Regions from separate parts of the Homo sapiens genome. Here region 2 is linked to region 1. Evidence: promoter capture Hi-C in human tissues and cell types (Jung and others, 2019). All regions are on one chromosome and are shown on one strand. The core of a region is centred on a gene start or on the middle of the fragment in contact, and the rest is flanking DNA. Distances in the headings are between cores, read along the strand shown.

Evidence for each region. Contacts are between HindIII fragments. The study calls those that stand out against the background at their distance.
Region 2: a fragment that was not itself captured here is called in contact with the fragment with the promoter of NNAT in region 1 in 2 of the 25 tissues and cell types used here (bladder and dorsolateral prefrontal cortex).

The regions. Positions count from the first base shown.
Region 1 is chr20:37,516,561-37,523,313 of GRCh38, forward strand. It overlaps NNAT (neuronatin), which reads left to right and starts at 4,690. Exons shown (of 3, transcript NM_005386.4): 1 at 4,690-4,843; 2 at 5,798-5,878; 3 at 6,107-6,753. The coding sequence starts at 4,772. The coding sequence ends at 6,199. BLCAP (BLCAP apoptosis inducing factor) reads right to left here. Exons shown (of 2, transcript NM_006698.4): 2 at 857-2,790. The coding sequence starts at 2,614. The coding sequence ends at 2,351. RefSeq lists enhancers at 2,035-2,898, 2,899-3,762. The HindIII fragment of the contact is 18,819 bases long and covers 3,820-6,753 here.
Region 2 is chr20:38,036,899-38,043,651 of GRCh38, forward strand. RPRD1B (regulation of nuclear pre-mRNA domain containing 1B) reads left to right here. Exons shown (of 7, transcript NM_021215.4): 2 at 3,537-3,666. It overlaps LOC124904898 (a long non-coding RNA gene), which reads left to right. Exons shown (of 2, transcript XR_007067579.1): 2 at 561-1,209. Among named protein-coding and RNA genes, the nearest start is that of RPRD1B, 6.5 kb to the left of the region's middle. The HindIII fragment of the contact is 3,717 bases long and covers 2,276-5,992 here.

The DNA.
Region 1 (6,753 bases), core at 3,440-5,939:
GCAGATATGATCGATAAAAGTTTGGTTCTTTGAAAATACCTCTAAAATAGACAAATCTTTGGCAAGTTTTGAATGAAAAAAGGAATAAAGTGACAATGGGGAGACTTAAGTGAACAGGAGAAAACCATACTCAATTTTATAGCAACAAATTTAAAGCCTAGGTAGAACAGGTGATCTTCTATGAAATTACCAAAGCCCTTCACGACTGTGACTCAATAAAACCTCACGACAGCCCTGTGCCTTGGACAGGCAGTATTCCTACCATGCTTTCTAGAAGAAGGAGATTCAGAGGTGAATACTCAGCACAGGACCTGACAAACTAGCCTACACTGTCTCAAAGGTCATGGCCATGGGAGCACGTGCATACCTACAACATGGAACCACACCACTCTCGGCACTTCCAGCCATCACCTTACATCCGGCTGGTTGGACAGCCAGTCTTATTTATTTTTCCACTTGAAATGCCATAAGGGGTTTCACTATTTTTACTTCAAAAGCAGCACCATAAAAATCCTTGATGATTAGAGCTCCAGCTGTCTTAAGTTGTTTGTCAAGGGATCGGTTACTCAAATCTCCTATGGAGGGAAACAATTTCAGGCAAGAAGCCATGGGAGCTGAGAAACGCAAATGTCTCATCTCTGAAAACTTTCAGACTCCCTCCTGTTCACCGCCTGTCCTGCCCCCTGCTCCCCCTCCCCCATCCCCACCATCTGCTCTCCAGAAAGCAGATCAAATTTTCAGGCTAAGGTACTCTGGCGCCAAAGACTCAGCCCCTCCATGCTTCCCCCTGCCCCCCACCAACTCCGAAATCCAACACCACGACCCAAATGGACTGCAGCCACATAAAACCACAAAGTAAAGTTTATAAAGCTTTATTAAACATTTCAAACAGCTGTGCAACGAACACACCAAATAAAAGCTCTAGAATAGCAGTCCAGACGTTTCACAAGTATGGCCTCACAGTCCCATTCCCTAGATGGACTGCCTCCAGTTCTGTTCTCTGCCTGGCCCATCTCTCTTTCCCCTCAGGCAAGAGAGAGATGGATGGATCAGACTGAAAGGACAGGCATGCTGATCTCCAGCAGGCAGGGGCCAGGAGAAAGTCTCGTTTGCCAACACTTGTTACTGAAGCGCAGAAAAAGCAGCAAGTGACAGTCACAAAGTCTTCCTGGGTATTCTTCATAATGTACAGTCTATATGCGCAGGAACGAAGAAGCTCCTGGCGGGAGGATGATGGCCACTGCTCCCCTCTGTCTTGTCTGAACCACCTCGGAGTCCAGTGTGCTGGTCACTCTGCAATCCCCATGCTAAATAAAAACTGTAGCGGCACCTACCATATATAGCTAGCTATTGCTAAACCTCAAAATCAGACCACGTTCGATAAAGCTTCTTTAAAAGGAATATACACATGTATTTGTACACACACACACACAGGGCACACCAAAAAATATCCAAACATCTATCAAGGGGATCAAGGCCGTTACGAAACACACAGGTACTCTCCCACTCACTCAGCTGGGGACTGCTAGAACTACGTGAACACACCATACTTCAATGCTGCAGAGCATGCACGGGAGACACAATGAGGCCCCCTCCTTGGGACAGTTGAGAAAGGCAGGAGGAAGGGCAAAGGAAGTGAGGCTGGGCGGGAAAGCTTGAGCCCAGACACCCAGGTGAAAGAGCAACATCTATCTGTTGCTTCCTTTCTTAAAAATGAAGTGGAGAAAATACTGAAGATTTGTGGACAACTAACAGTCAAGACATGTTTCTGTCTAGCCTGCTGAACAAGGAAAGAAGGATGAAAAAGCGAGGCTCTCGGGCGTCAGCAATCTCTTCAAATTCGAGATAAGTGCAAAAATGAGCCCTGTCTTGGACAGGTACTCCCCAAAAAAGGAAAAGGGTAGAAGAGAAATAAAGGGAAACCAGAAGAGGGACTGAGGAGTCAGTAACATTCTGGGAAGGAAGGAGACCCTGACAAGGAGGGGTCACAGAGGTGACAATGAGACTGGCATTTTATCTGCCCCAGGTCACATTGGGGCAGCTGACCAGGATGGACCCAGACTCCTCACAGTAATGAGGCGAGAGGGGTGGTCATGCGGCCAGCCAGGACCTAGATGGGGACAGAACACACACAACCACAAGACCACCCACGACTATAGGACTTTACAATAAAAGCACCGGTCAGTGCCATTATTCACATTGTAAGGATAAAACATCACAGGCCAAAAAGGCGCCGTCAGGAATGTGACACCCGCGAGGCTGCGGGATTTGAAACTCCAATGCTTTATGACCTATGTCAATGCCTCCCCTCCCGTCTTCTGCTTCCTTGGAAAGCTAACAGGGCAGGCCGTTAGGTGCCCACAACGCCGGGATCATGCGCCGATTCTGGAAGCGGGGAATCGGAGCAGTGGTACAGGAAACAGTTTCCCCAGCAGCTATAGCAGATAAGGAACAGGGCTGCCAGGAAAACCAAGGCACAAATTGTGCAAGGCTTCCGTTCCAGGAGGAAGCTGAGCAGGTAGAAGCCCATGAACATGGAGTGGCTGAACCACAGGGCGGGGTTGAGGGGCTTGGGGATGAGGAGGACGGGCAGCAGCCACTGGAGGCAATACATGATCTCTGCCGGGCAGGGCCTTCACCAAGGCTGCCGGGCACCGCTGCAGGAACCGACCTAATGGGAGCCAGCGGGCGCAGGCGGCTGCCCTCCGCTTTCTTCAACCCTCACTCTCCAGGAGCTGAGCCGCTGTGCTCTCTGGCTGTCAGCCCGGGATCACCAAGGCAGCAGGGATCCTGAAGAGAAAAGTCAACACAACAGACAAACAGACAAAGAACAGACAGACAGACAAAAAAAAAAAAAAAAAAAGAAAAAAAAAAAAAAAACAGGAACAGAATGTATACTTATTTGGGAAAATGGATCATGGTTAACAACAGCAAATGTGAAATGCCCTTTCCTCCCTGCCCACCCGTGAAAGTTCTACTCCTCTCCAAGTCACTAATTCGGGAAGCTTCCTGGGATGTCTCCCCGGGGCTTCTCCTGGGGGATCGGGGAGAGGGCTCTTTGGCACGGTTTCACACAGTGGGCTGGCTTTGCCTGGGCCCTGCCCAGCAGAGATCATGTATCGCCTCCTGGGGCTGCAGCCCGTCCTCAAGGGGCCCAGACCTCACAATACCGCCCAGTGGTTGCCAAAGGACGACCAAGGGCTCCCTGCTGTGCCCCCACGTGGTAAGGACAGGGTTCTGTATCTAGCATCTCTCACAGCCATAGGTGCTCAGGCACTAAGTGCAGAGTTAAAGCTGTTAGCGGGGCACTGCCGGCCACCAGACCACAGGCAAAGGATCCTGAGGCAGCTACAGCCTCGAAATATTTTAAGATGGCAGCCTAGGCTAAGCTTGCCTTTTTCAAACAGCCCAGCGTCACTTTGCCAGAATCTGCCAACTTCTCCGAAAGTCAATGTAGAAAAAAAGTCACTATGCTACTTTGTCCAAACTGAACTCGTTTGGATCATTACACCTCCATCTGCTGCTGGCACTGTATAGAACCTGACCTCTGGGAGCTTTTAATGAAAATTAATTTTCTATCCACATAGGGGCAAATGCCAGTTGGTCCCTGGGCCAGGCAGCTTGCTGGAAAGAGGTGCTTTCGGCTGGCTACCGGTGCGCGGGGACCACACTCACAAACCGCATTCCGGTCTTCCCGCCCGAAAATCCGCGCTGTGCGAGGGACCCACAAGACTGGCGGTCTAAAAGGGACCCGCCTCACTTGGAAACGGGGCTGCGGTAGCCACAACCCTCCGGTAGCGGTAGCGTAACCCCGTTCGGTGATCCAGCCGCACAGCGCAACGGGTACAAAGAACCCCACTGGCTAAGGCCGACCTACCAGGGCTTGGGGGAGGGGAGCGGAAGACTGAGGTCGAAACGACCTGTCCAGCAGAAAACTATCCCCAAGCATATTCCAACCACTTCTCCGTAGAGCTCATTCCTTCCGTGCATACGAAGGGCGCCAATCCTTCCTGTATCCCTCCTACAGATACCGGGTGACTACTGCTTTTGCGCCCAAAGCGCAGTGCTCTGGCTCAGCTCCCTACAGTAGCGACCTCCACCGCAGATTCTCATCTCCTCGCTACCGTAAGAGAGATGTAAAGAATCAGACGGGTTACGCGCTCAGGCACCCTCATGAAGCAGAGGACCTGGGCTTAAAACTCATTCAGTATCAGGAAAAGAGCGCCGAGCACGGGCCTATTATGCCAAAGCTTCTGAAAGGGGCACCACGTTTTTTGCTCTATGGGGCAGATGACCCCTCCCTAATTTCGGTTTTCCATCCATCCCCAAGGTAGGCTTTGGAGTGGCACCGGAGACTGAGCTCAAATTTGCAGGCCAGGGACTGGGGAGAAGGGCGCCACACTAAGAGACCTGCACCCCCATTCTCGCCCTGTACTCTACCCAGAGTCGTGGTACCCCTCCATTTTAAAGCAAAATCCAAAAGCAAGCACGGCGGAATCTTCTGGAAGGGGGCTAAGATGGAACTCAGGAGGCGGGGGTCGGTATGGAAAGAGCAGATGGATTATTTTTTTCCTCTCCTGGCGAATGAGGAGCGCCCCCAGCCACCCCTCCTCATAAACACCCCCCAAGGCGCGCATGCGCACTTAGGTGGCGGGCGGGTACTTAAGGCGCGGCCACCGCGGCTGCGGCAGTGCGCCCAACAGCGGACTCCGAGACCAGCGGATCTCGGCAAACCCTCTTTCTCGACCACCCACCTACCATTCTTGGAACCATGGCGGCAGTGGCGGCGGCCTCGGCTGAACTGCTCATCATCGGCTGGTACATCTTCCGCGTGCTGCTGCAGGTAAGTCTGACGGGGTTTCGGGTGGGAGAGGGTTCCCAACTCGCGCCCCTAGAACCCGCAAGACTGCGTCGCGATTGCCGCTTCCCGGACCCGTCCTATTCCGATTGCCGCGATCCTTGCCTGCCCAAGTGCCGCTGCCGGCACCGCGCGCCCCCTGCCCATTCCCTGCGCCGTCCTCCTCGCGCTGACCCTCCCTAGTGCGCCCGCGCCTGCCAGGGAACAAAGACTCGGGGCGCGGCGGGCGACCGCTGCGGACGATCACCCAGGCATTTAGCGACCTACGCGGTAAGAAAAACCCGCTACACCCGGACTCGACCCCAGGAGGGAGGCGGGGCACTACTGTGTTGAAAGACTTTACAGCTCGCAGAGTGAAAATTTTCCACCTTAAAAAATTGCGCATTGCGGAGAAATTTTATTTAAAAAAACATATAGCGCTTGCGGGGGTGGAACAAAAAATAAGTTAGAAAAAGGCACTTCTCAGAAAAAATAAAAATTACTTCGCAAAAAAAAAAAACCCTACAACGAATTAGAGAAAAAGTAGTTCACAGGAAAACAGAAAAACGCGCATTGCAGGAAAAATAAATCGGAGAAAAGCACTTGGCAGAAAAAAATGCATTAGATTAAAAACGCACTGCAGAAAAAAATTAGACAAGGGAGCTAACGGAAAAAAATGGATCGGGCAAAAACGCTTTAAAGAAAAAAATTAGAGGAAAAAGCCCCTCGAGAGAAAAATAGAAGGGGAAAAAAAGCACTTCCAAAAAAGGACAATTGCTTTACAAAAAAAAAAATAATAATAAAAAAAATAAAAAAGAGGCAAAAGCGCTTGGTGTAAAAAGAGATAAATCAGAAGAAAGCGCTTTGCCCATAAAATCATTTACCCTAAAAGCTCCCTTTGCAGGAAGAATTCCCTGCTAAAGGAATCCTTTGCCAAAGGAATCGCATATTTCCTTCAAGGTGTTCCTGGAATGCTGCATTTACTGGGTAGGATTCGCTTTTCGAAATCCTCCAGGGACACAGCCCATTGCGAGAAGTGAGGTATACCTAAGTTGTGGGTCCAATCAGCTTGCCGCCATGCAGCTCTCAGCACAGTTGGAAAAGCTCCAGCTGCCCTGACTCGTGGACAAGCTGCGCCCGCGCCCGCCTCTCCAGCCTACGCTGGATGGGCGGGCGGGGCAGGGGGTGGGGCGGGGGTGGGCACGGCAGCACCACAGACATGCTGTGGGTGCTCTCCACTAAGGGTGGGTCCTGGGTTTCTCGTCGCAGGTGTTCAGGTACTCCCTGCAGAAGCTGGCATACACGGTGTCGCGGACCGGGCGGCAGGTGTTGGGGGAGCGCAGGCAGCGAGCCCCCAACTGAGGCCCCAGCTCCCAGCCCTGGGCGGCCGTATCATCAGGTGCTCCTGTGCATCTCGGCCAGCACGGGAGCCAGTGCCGCGCAGGAATGTGGGGTCCCCTGTGTTCCCTCGCCAGAGGAGCACTTGGCAAGGTCAGTGAGGGGCCAGTAGACCCCCGGAGAAGCAGTACCGACAATGACGAAGATACCAGATCCCTTCCCAACCCCTTTGCACCGGTCCCACTAAGGGGCAGGGTCGAGAGAGGAGGGGGGATAGGGGGAGCAGACCCCTGAGATCTGGGCATAGGCACCGCATTCTGATCTGGACAAAGTCGGGACAGCACCATCCCAGCCCCGAAGCCAGGGCCATGCCAGCAGGCCCCACCATGGAAATCAAAACACCGCACCAGCCAGCAGAATGGACATTCTGACATCGCCAGCCGACGCCCTGAATCTTGGTGCAGCACCAACCGCGTGCCTGTGTGGCGGGACTGGAGGGCACAGTTGAGGAAGGAGGGTGGTTAAGAAATACAGTGGGGCCCTCTCGCTGTCCCTTGCCCAGGGCACTTGCATTCCAG
Region 2 (6,753 bases), core at 2,884-5,383, 520 kb after region 1:
GGCTAGTGGCTAACTTACTGGACAGTGCAGAGTTAAAAAAAGATGCTCTTCCAAGCATCAATACCTAGCTTCCGAATATCCAGGCTTATTTCATGAACTGAAAATGCCCCCACACTGAAAGAAAAGGATTCTGTGCCCTAATGTTCAGATTGATTAGCCCTGTAGGTTCTACCTAGGGTGAAGTCATTTTCCGTAGCTGAGATGCTCACAGACTGTCTCTGAGTTGCCTTCAAAATATATGAGATTTATAAAAATTAACTTTTTTTCTTGCTTAAATACTTCTATTCCTGATGTGTTGTCTTTCCATTTTCTAGGAATAATTTTTAATTTATCCCATTTGAGCTCTGTTCTAAGTAGAACGTCTCCCCTTCTTTATGGACTAGTTTTGGTGTAAAGTGCTCCTAAATGAATGTTTTTAATGGTGTTTTGTATCTTGGCCTGAATGTAGGTAATGGGCTTTTATTGCAGAATTACTTTAAGACTTTCTGTAGATGTCAAAACCAGCCAAACAAGTGAAAAGTTTTGATTAACCAGTTGTTTAAATTTTACTCAACAACTAGTTTGACCAGTTTGGAATGGACATGGGTAGTGAGTGAAAGGACCTATTTCTGTCGTATAGGAAGGACATCTGAACAAGTGAGTTGTCCCCCAGGATTGGGATGGAGGGGTGTGCATGTTGTGTGTATTGTGACTGTGTGTGCTCAAGAGCTCTAGGGTTTTGTCATATCACCTTGACACACATGGTGCTTATGTTGACTGTTGAGGATGTTGAATATGGAGGGATACAGTTTATCCTAAATAAATCCCCATTGTTAAGTTCTGGGGTGATGAAAATTAATTGGCATTGTAAACAGTGAAAACCTTGGGTCTCAAGCCCCTTAGATACCTTGTTTGTCTACTGAGAAGTATATATCAGGTCTTGAATGTCCACACTGACATTTTACAATATGGATTCTAGGTTTTTTTTTTTTCAACATAAAGTGTATGGAATTTTAAAGCTTCACTTAATGAAATTTGCTTTGTTGAAGTTCTGTTTTGCTTTCGAATCTGCTAACTTGCATGGGATTATAGGTGTAGTAGTTTCACTTACATCAACTTTGCAGAGCAAGGTTTGCTTTAACAAAAAAGCACGTTTTGCCATAATCATACCTTTGTAGCAACAGTAGATATTGTAACTACTGACACTTTTGTTCTGCTTTTGAATAATAATTAGAAAGTTGAAGAAAGCTCCAGGTTCCTAGTATTCTTATCAGTTGGCCATCTAAACTAGGTTATTACCAGAAGGTTAAGACAATTCAGGGTATCCATATTTAATTTTATGAGCATTTAAGACATCAGTTTCATCAGTTTAAACTGTAATGTGCTATTAAAATCATGTTTTTAACTTGGGTTACTCTCCTGTAGCTACATTTTTTTTTTTTTTTTTGAGACGGAGTCTCTTACTCTGTCACCCAGGTGGGAGTGCAGTTGGCGCGATCTCGGCTCACTGCAACCTCCGCCTCCCAGGTTCAAGTGATTCGCCTGCCTCAGCCTCCCAAGTAGCTGGGTTTACAGGCGCCTGGCACCACGCCCGGCTGATTTTTTTTGTTTTGTTTTTTTTTTTTTTTTTTTTTTTTGAGACAGAGTCTTGCTCTGTCACCCAGACTGGAGTGCAGTGGTGTGATCTCGGCTCACTGCAAGCTCCGCCTCCTGGGCTCACCCCATTGTCCTGCCTCAGCCTCCTGAGTAGCTGGGACTACAGGCGCCCGCCACCACGCCTGGCTAATTTTTTGTATTTTTAGTAGAGACAAGGTTTCACCATGTTAGCCAGGATGGCCTTGATCTCGTGACCTCAGGTGATCCACCTGCCTTGGCCTCCCGGAGTGCTGGGATTACAGGCGTGAGCCACTGTGCCCAGCCTCCTGTAGCTACATTTTAAAATGTCAGATCTTATGCCTGCTATGTCAGACATATCAATGCTTTGTACATTTCAAAAGAAACAACTGGTTTCAGAGAGAAATAGAGTTACTCAGGTGTGTTAAGGTTGATAAAGAGCTTGTGTTTTTCAGGTACTTTAGCATTGGAGAAAACTTTGTGTTTTGAAACATCTAATTATGTTCTTATTTATTTCTTTTAAAAGAAAATTGGAACCAAAAATTGTAGGGATGTAACTTTATAGTTGAGAAATTATGTGCATAGAAGCCAGGGAATTCAGTAATGTTCCCCAAAGCAACTGTAACTCAGACATATTGCACGAGGTTTTTATGGTTTAATATATGATACCATATAGAGTAATAGGGAATAACCACATTTCATATAAATAAGAGAGAATTATGGTTTTTGTGAAAGCCCTAATTTTGCATATCTAGATTTCACACGTGTGTAAATTTTCAATAAGAGTGTAGTGTTAATGTATACTTGTATTTGAGCTAATATCTATTGGTGCACCTAGAGATTCTTCTATATTATTGATTATGGTTATTGGAGTATCAGAGAAATTCTCAGTTTAGGAGCAAAATTACAAGAAACCTTTTTTTTTTTTTTGAGACGGAGTTTTGCTCTTGTTGCCCAGGCTGGAGTGCAACAGCATGATCTAGGCTCACCACAACCTCTACCTCCCGGATTCAAGCGATTCTCCCACCTCAGCCTCCTGAGTAACTGGGATTACAGGCATGTGCCACCACGCCAGGCAAATTTTGTATTTTTAGTAGAGACGGGGTTTCTCCACGTTGGTCAGGCTGGTCTCAAACTCCCGACCTCAGGTGATCCGTCCATCTCGGCCTCCAAAAGTGCTGGGATGACAGGCATGAGCCACCACGCTCGGCGAAACCATTTTAAAATTGAAACCTAACTCAGTCTTTTTTTTTTTTTTTTGAGACAGAGTCTTGCTCTATTGCCCAAGCTGGAGTACAGTAGTGCAATCTCGGCTCACTGCAACCTCCACCTCCTGGGTTCAAGCGATTCTCCTGCCTCAGCCTCCTGAGTAGCTGGGACTACAGGTGCCCACCATCACACCCGGCTAATTTTTGTATCTTTAGTAGAGGTAGGGTTTCACCATGTTGGCCAGGCTGGTCTCAAACTCCTGACCTCAAATGATCCACCCACCTCGTCCTCCCAGAGTGCTGAGATTACAGGCATGAGCCACTGCGTCCGGCCAACTCAGTCTTTCATTCTGAAATATTTGATAATTAAAAGTGAGTTAGAAGTTGCTCATTTTTGCAGTAGAATAAATAAAAGCCCTAGTTTCAACATTAACACTGACTGCTTATCCTTTAGGAATTCTCTTTGGATTATCTTAATTTTTACTATCAATTAATTACCCTGGTTTAAACAACACAGCAATGAAGATGGCCCATTCTTTTTCTTTTTCTTTTTTTTTTTTCCGAAATGGTATTCCCAAACCTATTCCTTAGGTGGTCTTTTTAAACATATCTACTTGACCCCCCAGGTAGATAATACTTGTCTTAATGTTTTTTTAGGAGCAGCCCAGGGCAAAAGAATTGTGAATTGAGAATTTCTTTGGTGTAAGTTAAATTCTTTTCTTTTCTTTTTTTCAGCCAAATCAAATAGAAAGCTTACTTTTCTGTATTTAGCGAATGATGTCATCCAAAACAGTAAAAGGAAAGGACCTGAATTCACTAGAGAATTTGAATCTGTCCTTGTGGATGCTTTTTCTCATGTTGCCAGGTATGTTGTCTGTTTTTTGGATTTGTTTTTAAATTCATTGCCTTTCCCACCTTTTTGTTCTTTCCTTTTCTGTGATAGCCTTTGTAAATTGACAACTTCCTACTTTACAGAGAGTTGTGGAGGCCGAATTGTGGTTTTATGTTTTGTTGAGCCCTCAAGAACTATCGAGACATGTAAACATTCTGATACATTTGAGAGATTCAGCCTAGCATTATCTTTCTTCTAGATATATTCATTTTCATTTTTTGAATTTATTTCTTGGTTATGGTATTTTCCTTGGTTTGGTTGAGTTGTCTCATCAGCTTATGATCAAAAAACAAAGCTAACTAGTAAGGGAACCTTTTAGTAACATAACTTAATAGCAAGAAATTAATTGCCAAATGCCTTCCTTTTTATTTCCTTCTGGATTTCTAGATGTCTAGTTTACTAAAAATAGTAGGCATTACTGTAACTGCAATAATAGTAATTATTAGTGTAGAAAGTAGGTGTTTGCTCTGGCTATATTGTATTAAGCCTGGTGCTGTTGTGTTTTGTGGCAGAGAGGAGTGGCACTCATACAACTAATACCATAGAAAGCATACATTGGATTAAAAGTTTTATAAATTACTTTACTTCATGTAAAAACAAAAGCTTTCTGTGGGCTTAAATTAGGTGCCCAGGAAAAGCAAAGAAAAACTATCGTTCATTAGAATATTATGTTTATAAGTAAATATATAAACAGATATTTGCAAAAGGAATTGGGAAACATGAATGGGAGACTAGTAGGTTAAACATAAATTGTTACTAGGTCTAAAATATAGTGAAAGGCCTTAAATGAGAAATGAAGTCCTGCTTTCATTGCAGGATTTGAAAAGTTTGAAGGAATAAAATTAGAAATCCAAGAGAAAGAAATGACACCTAGCTTTCTAGAGATGAAAAAGATGGTTTTTGTGGATAAGTTACATAACTGGCTCACCTTTTGATCAACATGGGCGCAAGTAGCAAAATGTGTTATTAACTTGAAAAAAATACTGAATCTTCATAACAGAGTAAGCTTAGAACAGACTACTAGAGGAGCTATCTGAAATAGACAGATTTTCTTGCTTTGATGAGATTTAGTTCACAGTTGCTTAGAAATTGATGGTAGCTCTGCCTCAGACACTATGTGAGTGACCTTGGATGTGTTACTTAACTTTTTGAGCCCAAATTTCCTAACTGGCTAAAGGGGGAGGATACCACTCCCCCTCATAAGAGTTGTGAGGGTAAAGACAGACAATATGTTTAAAAGTATGTAGTACAATGCCTGTTCCACATTTGCTCATTCATTGGATCATTTGTTTTTTCCTATATTCCAGGCACCTAGTAAAGTGTCTGGCACAGAGCTGCTGAGTTATGTAGCTTGAAGGAATACCATTTATATAGCCTCCATGTAAGTGGTGTCCCAGGAGCTGGGCAACATTATGGTCTGCCCTGACACAGTAGGCGTTCAGTAAATATTTGTTAAATGAGTTAATTAATGTTAACTCATTATGGAAGAGATTTGGTCTAGGGAGTTGGCTGGAATGATTTCTTGTAGGGATAGTAAACATAACAGTGTTATTAAAAAATTCCAGCCTGGGCAGCATAGTGAGACCCTGTGTCTACAAAAAATTTTTTAAAAATTAGCCAGGCATGGTGGTGTGCACCTGTAGTCCTAGCTACTTGGGAGGCTGAGGCAGGGGGATTGCTTGAGCCCAGGAGTTCAAAGCTGTAGTGAGCTATAATCATACCACTGCACTCCAGGTTTAGCAACAGAGCATGACCCTGTCTCTAAATTACAAACAGACAAACGATCTGTAATCTTTAGCTGTCCTGAAACCAAAAAGTAAATAGAAAGGGGTGGAAAAGGGGGTGGGCAACACCAGGGTTAAAAATTCCTTTTTTCTTGGGAACACCTTAAAAACTAGCCAGGTTTTAGGTGTCTTGGCAGATTCAGTGGCAGTGTGAGGAAGATAAACCTGGTCCTTCTCAATAAAATAGCCCGAATTCCTTTCTGTTTGCATTCTGGTTCTTTTAAGATTCTGCTTGGGTATTACATTCAGGATACCCATGTTTCCAATCTCCTTTCTTATACCCCATTATTGGGACAGAAAGTCCAACAGTTCTGCTTCAACCGTGATGCAGCTCGTCCACAGTAGGAGTAGCCTAATTAACATATACTTTCTGTGTGCTTTTTCTGTGGTCAGTTGATGAACAAAGATAGTTGACCCATTACTGTTGACTAAATTGATGAGGGATATTTTTATGATAAAAGACACCTCCACACCCAAAACAAACAAACAGTAAAAAAAACTCTCAAGTCAGAGAAAGCTGCCAAGTTCATAGGATAGATTTGATTTGAATAGCAGTTTAATTAACCAGACTGCAAACTTGCTTTTCATACAAGTGCCTTGTTTTCTTCCCAGTGAGGAGACAGCTGTCCATGTCATTTTTCATTCAACATGTATTGGAGTGCCTTCTATGTGCCAAGTATGGATCCAGACACGGGGGGAGCAGCAGTGAACAAGGCAGGCAAAGACAATTAAATGAGCAAGATACTTTCAGAGCAGGACAATATGGACATAGTAAAATGGAGTGATGTTCTAGAGTAGGATCTCACAGGTAGTGTGGTTCAGGAAGGCCTCTAAGGAAATGACATTTGCGGTAATCATGCGAAGCGGGAGCAGCTATTAAGAAAAACTTAAGGCAGAGATCATCTTGGCCTTCTAAGAGAAACAGAATGAAGGCTGGTGTGGTTAGAATATAGTGCACAAAGGGAAAAGTGATATCCAGATGAGGTCCGAGAGGTGGACATGCAGCAGTCACATACACCCTGTAAGTCTTGGAAGTTAGGATTTTTTTCTCATGGGATGTCATTGAAGAGTTTTAACCAGGGGAATGATATATTCCAATATATTCCAACATACATTTTTAAAACATCCCTCTTTAAAAATGGCTTAGTGTAGAGGGATGGATTGTAAAGGCCAAGGGAGGGGCGGGGACATGAGTTTGGAGGATATTGCTGTGATGCAGGCTAGAGGTGACATTGCCTAGGACTCAGAAGCAATGGGAAGATACTAATAGCTTCCA